Regions from separate parts of the Homo sapiens genome. Here region 2 is linked to region 1. Evidence: promoter capture Hi-C in human tissues and cell types (Jung and others, 2019). All regions are on one chromosome and are shown on one strand. Each heading gives the region's core, a stretch centred on a gene start or on the middle of the fragment in contact. The rest is flanking DNA. Distances are from core to core; before and after follow the strand shown. Region 1 holds the start of LRCH1 (leucine rich repeats and calponin homology domain containing 1). Region 2 overlaps SUCLA2 (succinate-CoA ligase ADP-forming subunit beta).

Region 1 (4,700 bases), core at 991-3,490:
TCATTTGAAACTTTAAAGATGTATCAACAAGTACCCCATAAATTTATACAAATAAAAAAGGACATATCAACAGGTGGCAAACCTGTTAAACACATGGTCTATTATGCAATACTTAATTGATTACTAATATTAATTGTGCACTCATTATATACAAAGTACTCCCCTCGATTCTGAGGCATGGGGAGAGAGTTGCAAAGATGAATAGGTCCCTATTTCATGGAATTTACAGTTTAGTAATCTGTAGATGGGTAAACAAACCACAATGAGTAGGTCAATCTAACAGAGGGACTGATCATTTGTTAAAAAGCAAATCGTGGGCTCATATGCAATCCATTATTTTCTTTAAAGAAGAATTAGTGGTCTTTTAAAAAAATATGTATGCTTCCTATGATGCATCACAACGACTCTTAGTCTGAACTAAATTTGCAGTCAGCCAGAAGATGTCCCAAATCATGTCCTGACTGCTGATCACACAGACTACCACCTGGTTTCAGCTGAAGATTCTTTTAATTGGATTTTTTTCTGTGTTTCTGTTTTTCACTGGATTTTGTTTTTCTCTGTTCCTCTCCCTGGAGGAAAGTGGAAATTTGGTTACTTTTTTGTGATGGAAGTATACTTTCATTTATTATTATTGTCGTTATTATTATGAATTTTGAAGCCGGACTTTTAAAAGCCTGGAAGGCTGCGGCGAATGGCATGTGAGAGGGGAGGTTTGCGGGAGGATACCAGCAGGTGGCGCGTGTCTCCTCCGGGCAGATTAGAATGCTTTGCTCAGGGCCAAGAATCCCGCAGGAATTAAGGGCAACTATCTGTGCAGTCAATTCAAGTGACACAGATCATGCCATACTTAAGTGCCGAGTCCATGAAGTCACCAGTTCCAGCCTGTTGTCTAGGCCATCAAACTTATGTATTACCACTTAAAAAACCAGCTCCCCTACTCCAAGGGTTGCATTACTTTCGTGCTTGACACCCCGACAACCCCGCACCCACCCCCCGACTCATTTTCCCCAAGCCAAGTCGCTCATAGGGGACAATCAAGCCTTAAGAATAGAGCAAAAATAAAGGCCCTGGAAAGTTGGACATGAAGCTTTAACTTCAGGAAAGGAATGGTATTCTATTAATCGTCCAGCTGGTCTGCCCTTAGGGTGTCAGATGTTCTCTGTCGCCCCTGGTGTGCCAGCATTGGCCTGGGTGCCACTGGGTGGCTGATGGCAGAATGTGAATTCACTTGCAAGCGGACATGTTCGTTTCCATGCCCCAAAGCGGGAAGAAGAAGGGCACAAGGAGACTTCGATGGTTCTTTCAGCTCAGACTCGAGCTGTGACTGATTTGCTGTTTGGGGTCACTGGCTTTCTAGCCTCTCCTGGCACCACCCAATTTCGGGGAGCAGCCAGCTCATCTTTCTCCTACGACAATGTCTTCTGTCCCCCATAAACACTGCCCTCATTTTGAGTTTTTCTTTCCTATGTCTGTAGCTTTCTTCTGCCGCTCAGCAAACACTCTGTCCCACTCGTATTCGTCCCTTGGCGCTGGCGTCTGGCCCAGGGGTACACTGTGAAGGAGGGCAACCCTAGATTCTGAGGGCCCTAGCTCGAATCTAGCGCCCCTCTAACTGCAGGGGTGACCTTAGATACATTTATTAACTTCCTCTGTAGACTCAGGGGAACAACTTTGGCACTCCTGGGGTCCCTGGATTAATGAGGTAACTTACGTAGACTCCCTAAACAAGCGTCTGGTTCATTGTAAGCGCCCAAATGCCAGGGGGCATCTGCAGGGATGACCCCATAGTGAATGAAAACTGCCTCTTGGGGATCTCTGGGTTAAACGGCCAGAATAAATCGCAGAATTGAGAGAACCCTCTCCTGCCCCAAACCTCACTGTACTGTAAATCCCATTCATTGCCTCCCGCCGTTTTATCCGTGTTCTCAGACCACCCCCCTATCCCCGCAACCTCCAGTCCCCTAAAGCCTCCTGGGCGGCAAAAGGACGCCCAGAGAGAGGTTCGGCGCCTCAGTTGCCCCGGAGCAGACGTCCAGCCCCGCCGTGTACCCGATTGCGGGGCGGATCGCGGCAAGGCGGCGGCGGCCGGCAGAATAGGCGCGGAGGAAGGCTCAGGCGGGGCAGACTGCGTGGGGGAAGGAGGAGGAGAGAGCAGACGGCGGAGGAGGGCAGAGCAGCCGGGGGGAGGGCGCAGGGGCGGGAGGAGACACATGCGCGCTGCCGCCGCCGCCGCCGCCGCCGCAGTCCTTAGCTTCCCGGGGACAGGAAACCTTCAAGACCGAGCTGCCACGGCCGCCTCCCCGCCCGCCCCCCATTCTACGCGCCTGCCCACACCCTCCTCCCCTCCTTCCAGCGCCTTTCGGTGGAGCACTGCGGCACTCAGCCCGAGCTGCCGTTTTCCCCTCGCGGGGAACGCTGTGACCCCCCCGCAGGAGCGGCGGGGCGGGGTGGGGGGGCCCGGGAGAAGATGGCGACGCCGGGAAGCGAACCCCAACCTTTCGTCCCGGCCCTTTCGGTAGCTACTCTGCACCCACTTCATCATCCCCACCACCACCACCACCACCATCAGCACCACGGAGGAACCGGCGCCCCCGGCGGGGCGGGTGGTGGCGGCGGTGGCAGCGGGGGCTTCAACCTGCCCTTGAACCGGGGTCTGGAGCGCGCGCTTGAGGAGGCGGCCAACTCCGGGGGGCTGAACCTGAGCGCCAGGAAATTGAAGGAATTTCCCCGTACCGCAGCCCCCGGGCACGACCTCTCGGACACGGTGCAGGCAGGTGAGTGAGGGCCGAGGGGCGGGCAGGGGTGTGGGTGCTGTCTGGGTGTCTGTCGTGCGTTCCCTAACGCGGTGGACAGTCGGAGATCTTGTCTTGCTGGGGGAGGGAGGGTCCATCGGCCCGTTGTCTCCCGAAGAAGGGACTCGCGTGGGCGCGGAAGAAGCGGGCCCTGGAGAGGGCACGGGGGCCCTGCCTGGTCCGGCGATGCAGTGCCAGGAGGGCAGGGGTGCGCCGGGCCTCTGCGCCTGAGAGCGAGGGGTCTCCGGCTCTCCACCCTGTGGCTGCCGCGCCAGGGAAGTAACCGCGGGGCTGGGACTTGCAGGCGCGCCGCGTGCGCGCAGTGTAAGTGGGAGGTTTCAGGCGGCTGTGTCGGCTTCCTGGGCCCCGCGCAGGGCTGGGAACTCCAGCGCGGACAGCGGCGTCGGCGCCTCCAACCAGTTCAAGCCGTCTTTGCATCGAGGCGTAGCCCATCCTGGTGGGGAAACCCAGACAAAGGTGGCACGCCCTCGGCCGAGCCAGGGGCATCGGCGCAGTGCCGCGAGCCCCCTCGGCGACATCGCCGAGCGATCGGGCAACTCGGTGCCGCCTGTGAGGTGCCCAAGTTTCCTCTCCCTGCGCTTGTGCGGGAAAAGAGCCGCCGGGCTTGTAGTGAATCCCAGTCGGCTGCCGCTTCGGAAGCGATCGGCCCTCTTCCTTCCGTGCCTTTTGCTCACCGCCCACACAGTTTGGGTCCTACCACCGAGGCTACCTGGTTCTCAGTTACCCAACCGTTGCGGGGGCCCCAGGAAAGGACGGCGTGGCATATTAAAGGCAAAGTAATTAACGTGAGCCTGTTTTCCTGTGTGAGCCCGGCAAGTTGTAACTCGCGCCAATAAGCAGCATAACTTTTTCAAGTTACGTCATGTGTTACATACTTCTAAAACGTCTGCTTTCTCTTTGGTAGTTGGAGTTCCAGGAGCGGGATCTATAAACAGGAAGGAGGGTGGTGGAATAGGATTGGGGCCTTAGGGTCTATACAGAACTGACTTGGTTTCCGGCCATCCGGTTCCGCTCCCTGGGGGAGGGTTTGTGTCATAGCAAGCGCCCAACATTTCCCAGGGCAGTGGGTGCTCCGTTTTGGAGCCGCTGCCCAGACCTCTTGGCTGTCATCGCCTCATGGCCCAGGGTCAGACCCCCTGGGTCTTGGATGGGTTGACTCTCATCACAGGAGCACCCAGTTTAATCTTGTAGTGGGCAAGGGAGCAGGCAGTGGGTTTTTGGAGGCTAGGTTTCCAGTGTCTTTTCCCCCTTTTAATTCAATAAACATTTATCTAGAGCCTTAATGAATATTTAGATACAGTTCTGAGTTCACTGGAGGCAAAGATGGCTCTCCAGGGTCATTAAACTTTGTAATTTGGATTTAGGGATAGTCAGGAATCGGCAAAAAAGAGGGAATTTCCAAAGTTGAGCTGTCAACAGCTGGGGAGTGTCTTTCAATAAGACCTCTTAGTTACATCTTCTCAAGTGGAACTTATTCCAAGAATTGCCTGAATCACTGACTTAAAAAACTACATTAAATTTTACTTCCCTTCTGCTATAGAGTGTACCGTGAGCTAGCTATGCTATGGTTGGCTATATCTGCAGAAAATAGAGCTGGCATGACTAATAATAATAGGTTTGTGTAGTTCAGTAAGGGGGCTTCATAGTTGTTCTACTTCAGTTATGCTAAGGATTATTTACAAAGTTAGGTGAACTTGATGTGTCTGCTGTGTTGGCATTTCTTTGAGAAGACCAGTGCTTTTAGGGATCACATCTTTTAGCTAAGACCTCGCCATGTGAAGTGGATGCTGAAAGTGTTCTTGTTGGCTTGTTTATGGCAAGCTTAAGTTGTGAGTTTTGCAGGTTTTTATTTATGAGCTCACTTGCACATGTTTTATGCTCAGGAAA
Region 2 (4,700 bases), core at 946-3,445, 1.4 Mb after region 1:
TAATCCCTAAGGTATATGATTAAATGATCTTCAACAATGGTGGGAAAGCTACACAAGAGGGCAAAAAGAACAGTCTCTTCAACAAATGGTGCTAGAAAAATTGGATATCCACATGCAAAAGAATGAAGTTAGACCCTTACCAATACTACTATATGCAAAAATTTACTCAAAATAGATTAAAGACCTAAACATAAAACCTGAAACTATAAAACTCATAGAAGAAAACAGGGAGAAAAAAGTTTATGACATTGGATTTAGCAATGATTTCTTAAACATGATACCAAAGGCACAGGCAGAAAAAAAGCAAAAATTGACAAATGGAACTCTATCAAACTTAAAAACTTCACAGCAAAGGAAATAATCAACAAAGTAAAAAGGCAATCTACAAAATGAGAGAAAATATTTGCAATCCATATATCTAGTTAAAAGCTGAAATTCGGAATATGTAAGATCTTCTACAACTCAATAACCAAAAAAGTAAAAAATAAAAAACCCAAACAAAAAAATTTAAAGATGGGCAAAGGACTTAAATAGACATTTCTCCAAAGCAGATCTGCAAATGGCCTGTAAGCATATGAAAAGATACTCAGTATCACTAATAACGGGGGAAATGCAAATAAAAACCACAGTGAAATATAATCTCACACCCTTTAGGATGGCCACTACCAAAAAAACAGAAAATGAATATTGGCGAGGATGCAGAAAAACTGGAAGCTTTGTCTGCTGTTAGTTGGAATATAAAATGGTACGGCTCAGCTAGGTGCAGTGGGCTCATGCCTGTATTCCCAGCACTTTGGGAGGCCAAAGCAGGCAGAACACCTGAAGTCAGGAGTTCAAGACCAGCTGGCCAACATAGTGAAACCCTGTCTCTACTAAAAATACAAAAACTAGCCGGGCATGGTGGTGCACGCCTGTAGTCCCAGCTACTCAGAAGGCTGAGGCAGAAGAATCACTTGAACCCAGGAGGCGGAGGTTGTGAGCCGAGATCGCACCACTGCACTCCAGCCTGGGCAACAGAACGAGACTCCGTCTCAAAAAAATACAAAAATAAAAAAATTAGCAGGGTGTGGTGGTGGGTGCCTGTAATTCCAGCTACTCAGGAGGCTGAGGGAGAAGAATCACTTGATCCCGGGAGACTGGGGTTGCAGTGAGCCGAGACTGCACTACTGCACTCCAGCCTGGGAGACATAGCGAGACTCTGTCTCAAAAAAATAATTAATTAAATAAAACGGTACAGCTGCTATGGAAAACATTATAGAAGCTTCTCAAAAAAATTAAAAATAGAATTACCATATGATCCAGTAATCCCACTTCTAGGTATACATCCAAAAGAAATGAAAACAGGATCTCAAAGAAATATTTGAACATCTATGTTCACTGTAGCATTACTGACAATAGCCAAGAGATGAAAGCAATCTGAATGTCCATCAAAAGATGAATGGATAAAGAAAATGCAGTATATACATAAAATGGAATAGTACTCAGCCATAAATAAGGAAACTTTGTCATATGCTACATCATGAATAAACCTTGAGGACATTATGCTGAGATAAACCAGTTACAAAAAGACAGCTACTTCAGGTATCTAAAATACTCAAACTTTTAGAAACACAAAGAATGGAGATTACCAGGAGCTGGAGGGAAGTGGGAGAGGGAAAAGGGAGCTGTTCAATGAATAGTTTTAATTTTGTAAGACAAAAAAAGTTCTAGAAAAATTAAAGAAAAAAAAAGATTTGGATATCTGTTCTGGAGATGTTGCACAAAATGTGCACAAATTGTTTTACTCTGTTCCTTTTACCAAAAGAGAAATTAACATTCTCCTTCCTTCCTCTCTCCCTCCTTCCTTCCTTCCTTCTTTCTTTCTGAGAATGCACTATTATACTGCATACTCAAAATGGGTAAGGTAAATTTTTTGTTATATTTTTGACAATCTAAAAAAAAAAAATCTCTGAACACCAAAAGCTTGGGGAGCTTTGGGTTGGCAATATTCTGCATACTGCCACACATTAAGATGCTAGCAAGACAAAACATTCCTGAGAACAGTGGAAACTTAGTGTTTGGGAACCCTCCCAGACCTTGTTGGCTGGTTATGATTTTTATATCCTTTGGCTATAATAAAACTGTAATACTAAGTTTAACATTTTCCTGAGCTCTGTGAGTCGTTCTAAGGAATTAACCCTCAAATTTGTAGCTAGCTAGTCAGAAATGAGGGTAACCTGGGGACCACCAAAATTGAGACTGGTGTCTAAAGTAAGGGCAATCAAGTGCAGGACTATGCTCTTAGCCTCTGAAGTTTAGCTAAACCATGGGCACTTAGTATTAGAACTCCTTTCAATATAAAAAAAAAACTTTTTTAAATAAAAGAATTCAGAGCCTTCTGAGGCTAAAGAAGAGAACATTAGCAAGTCTAAGTAAAGAGAAATGTTTGAAATGATGGTTTAATTTTCAGTTCCTCTATAAATTTCAAATGAAAGGGTATTCTTCGTTTTCTCTCTAGCAAGGCAGTGCATAATTATTAGCTTTTACAAAGATCTAAAGAGCAGGAAAAAATTCTGATTGAAGAAGAGGCGGTTCAGTTTTAGTCATGCCACTGAAATAGAATATAGACAAATCTACAGATAACCATAAAATATAATTTTATTCAACAGGAGAGGTACAGACCAACAAATCTTTAAAATATTCTAACATTTTAGTTTAGTTTTCTTTTCCCTTTTTTTTTTTTTTTTTTGAGACGGAGTCTCGCTCTGTCGCCCAGGCTGGAGTGCAGTGGTGCGATATGGGCTCACTGCAAGCTCCGCCTCCCGGGTTCACGCCATTCTCCTGCCTCAGCCTCCGGAGTAGCTGGGACTACAGGCGCCTGCCGCCACGCCTGGCTAATTTTTTGTACTTTTAGTAGAGACAGGGTTTCACCGTGTTAGCCAGGATGGTCTCGATCTCCTGACCTTGTGATCCACCCGCCTCGGCCTCTCAAAGTGCTGGGATTACAGGTGTGAGCCACCGCACCCAGCCTCTTTTCATTTTAGTTTTACTCTCTTTTTATACCAACTGGTAAAAGAAATGAAAAGCCACAGAGAAGGCAACACGAGGAGAAAAGTTAATATTAAATTCTCACTAAAGTAAAAATTAAGTCAACAATTGGTTATAAGTTAGAAAAAAAAGGAAACAATAATACATAGAAGAAAGTGGAGTCTCTATTTGTCTTAATTCCACAACCAATTAGAAAGAAACCAACTTGCATGGGTAAACGTTAAACAATGACTATAGTTCCACATTTAGTCAACACTGTAGAATGAATAGCTATTTCATGTTCAAACGACTTGGCTTCACTTTTAAATCTTAGTAATAAACTTTCAAAACAATTTCATTTCAAGCAAGTAGCTGAAATTTCAAATATATTAATAATTCTACTTTTCACTTTTTTTTTTTTTTATTTTGACACAGTCTCACTCTGTCACCCAGGCTGGAGTGCAGTGGTGCAATCTCGGCTCACTGCAAGCTCCGTCTCCTGAGTTCATGCCATTCTCCTGCCTCAGCCTCCCGAGTAGCTGGGACTACAGGCACCCCCCACCACGCCCAGCTAATTTTTTGTTTTTTTTGTATTTTTAGTAGAGACAGTGTTTCACTGTGTTAGCCAGGATGGTCTCGATCTCCTGACCTCATGATCCGCCCGCCTCAGCCTCCCAAAGTGTCGGGATTACAGGTGTCAGCCACCACGCCCAGCCCTACTTTTCACTTTCTTAACCTAAGTTCTTCTTCTCTTGTTGGTATTTTTTTAAATTTGCCTTAAAATAGGCTTAAATGTAAAAGGCTTAAATGAGAAAGCAGCCACATGATATAATAAAGATCTGTAGCAGGGCATCGTGGAATGCACCTGTAATCCCAGCTACTTGGAAGGCTGAGGCAGGGGAATCACTTGAACTTGGGAGGCGGAGGTTGCAGTGAGCAGAGATGGCACCACTGCACTCCAGCCTGGGCGACAGAGCAAGACTCTCAAAAAAATTAAAAATAAAAATAAAAAATAAAGATGTGTATTTAAAAAAAATCACACGAAGTAAAATTAGAATTCTTAAGCACATTTTATAACTATTTCAGGTAAAGTCAAAAATTGACACAGGAAAATGTCCCACTCATTTGCAGAAGACTGCAGTTGTTTTACCAGAAAAATAAAAGTAGTAAATGTGATTTATTAAATAGACTTGACTCAGACCAAAAGTACCCAACAGGCACTAGGCAAATGTTAAGAAATCTAATTTAACAAAGGTATCACACAGAGAGTAGGTACTTGAATTCACTTTCTGGCAAGCCAACCCCATAGAAGTTACCTCCCGGAATCAGGATGTGAAAGGTACTAAAGACCAGTAGAACCTATGATACATCTCCTAAAAACAAGTCAGTAATAGAAGTAATTGTTTTCTGTTTTGTTTTAGTTTTGCTTTGCTTATTCTTTTTTTTTCTCTTCAACTTTTAAGTTGAGGTGTACATGTCCAGGATGTGTAGGTTTGTTACATAGGTAAACATGTGCCATGGTGGTGTGCTGTACAGATCATCCCATCACCCAGGTATTAAGCCCAACATTCACTAGCTATTCTTTCTGATGCTCTCCCTCCCTCCACCCCCACCCCGACAGGCCCCAGTGTGTGTTGATCCCCACCTTGTGTCCATGTGTTCTCATCATTCAGTTCCCACTTTTAAGTGAAAAC

Evidence for each region. Contacts are between HindIII fragments. The study calls those that stand out against the background at their distance.
Region 2: a fragment that was not itself captured here is called in contact with the fragment with the promoter of LRCH1 in region 1 in 1 of the 25 tissues and cell types used here (dorsolateral prefrontal cortex).

Annotation. Positions count from the first base shown.
Region 1 is chr13:46,550,930-46,555,629 of GRCh38, forward strand. It overlaps LRCH1 (leucine rich repeats and calponin homology domain containing 1), which reads left to right and starts at 2,241. Exons shown (of 20, transcript NM_001164211.2): 1 at 2,241-2,774. The coding sequence starts at 2,468. RefSeq lists silencers at 2,185-2,374, 2,435-2,494 and enhancers at 2,698-3,398, 3,055-3,374. The HindIII fragment of the contact is 6,535 bases long and covers 1-4,700 here.
Region 2 is chr13:47,980,780-47,985,479 of GRCh38, forward strand. All of the region lies in intron 4 of SUCLA2 (succinate-CoA ligase ADP-forming subunit beta), which reads right to left. Among named protein-coding and RNA genes, the nearest start is that of SUCLA2, 18 kb to the right of the region's middle. The HindIII fragment of the contact is 4,759 bases long and covers 1-4,575 here.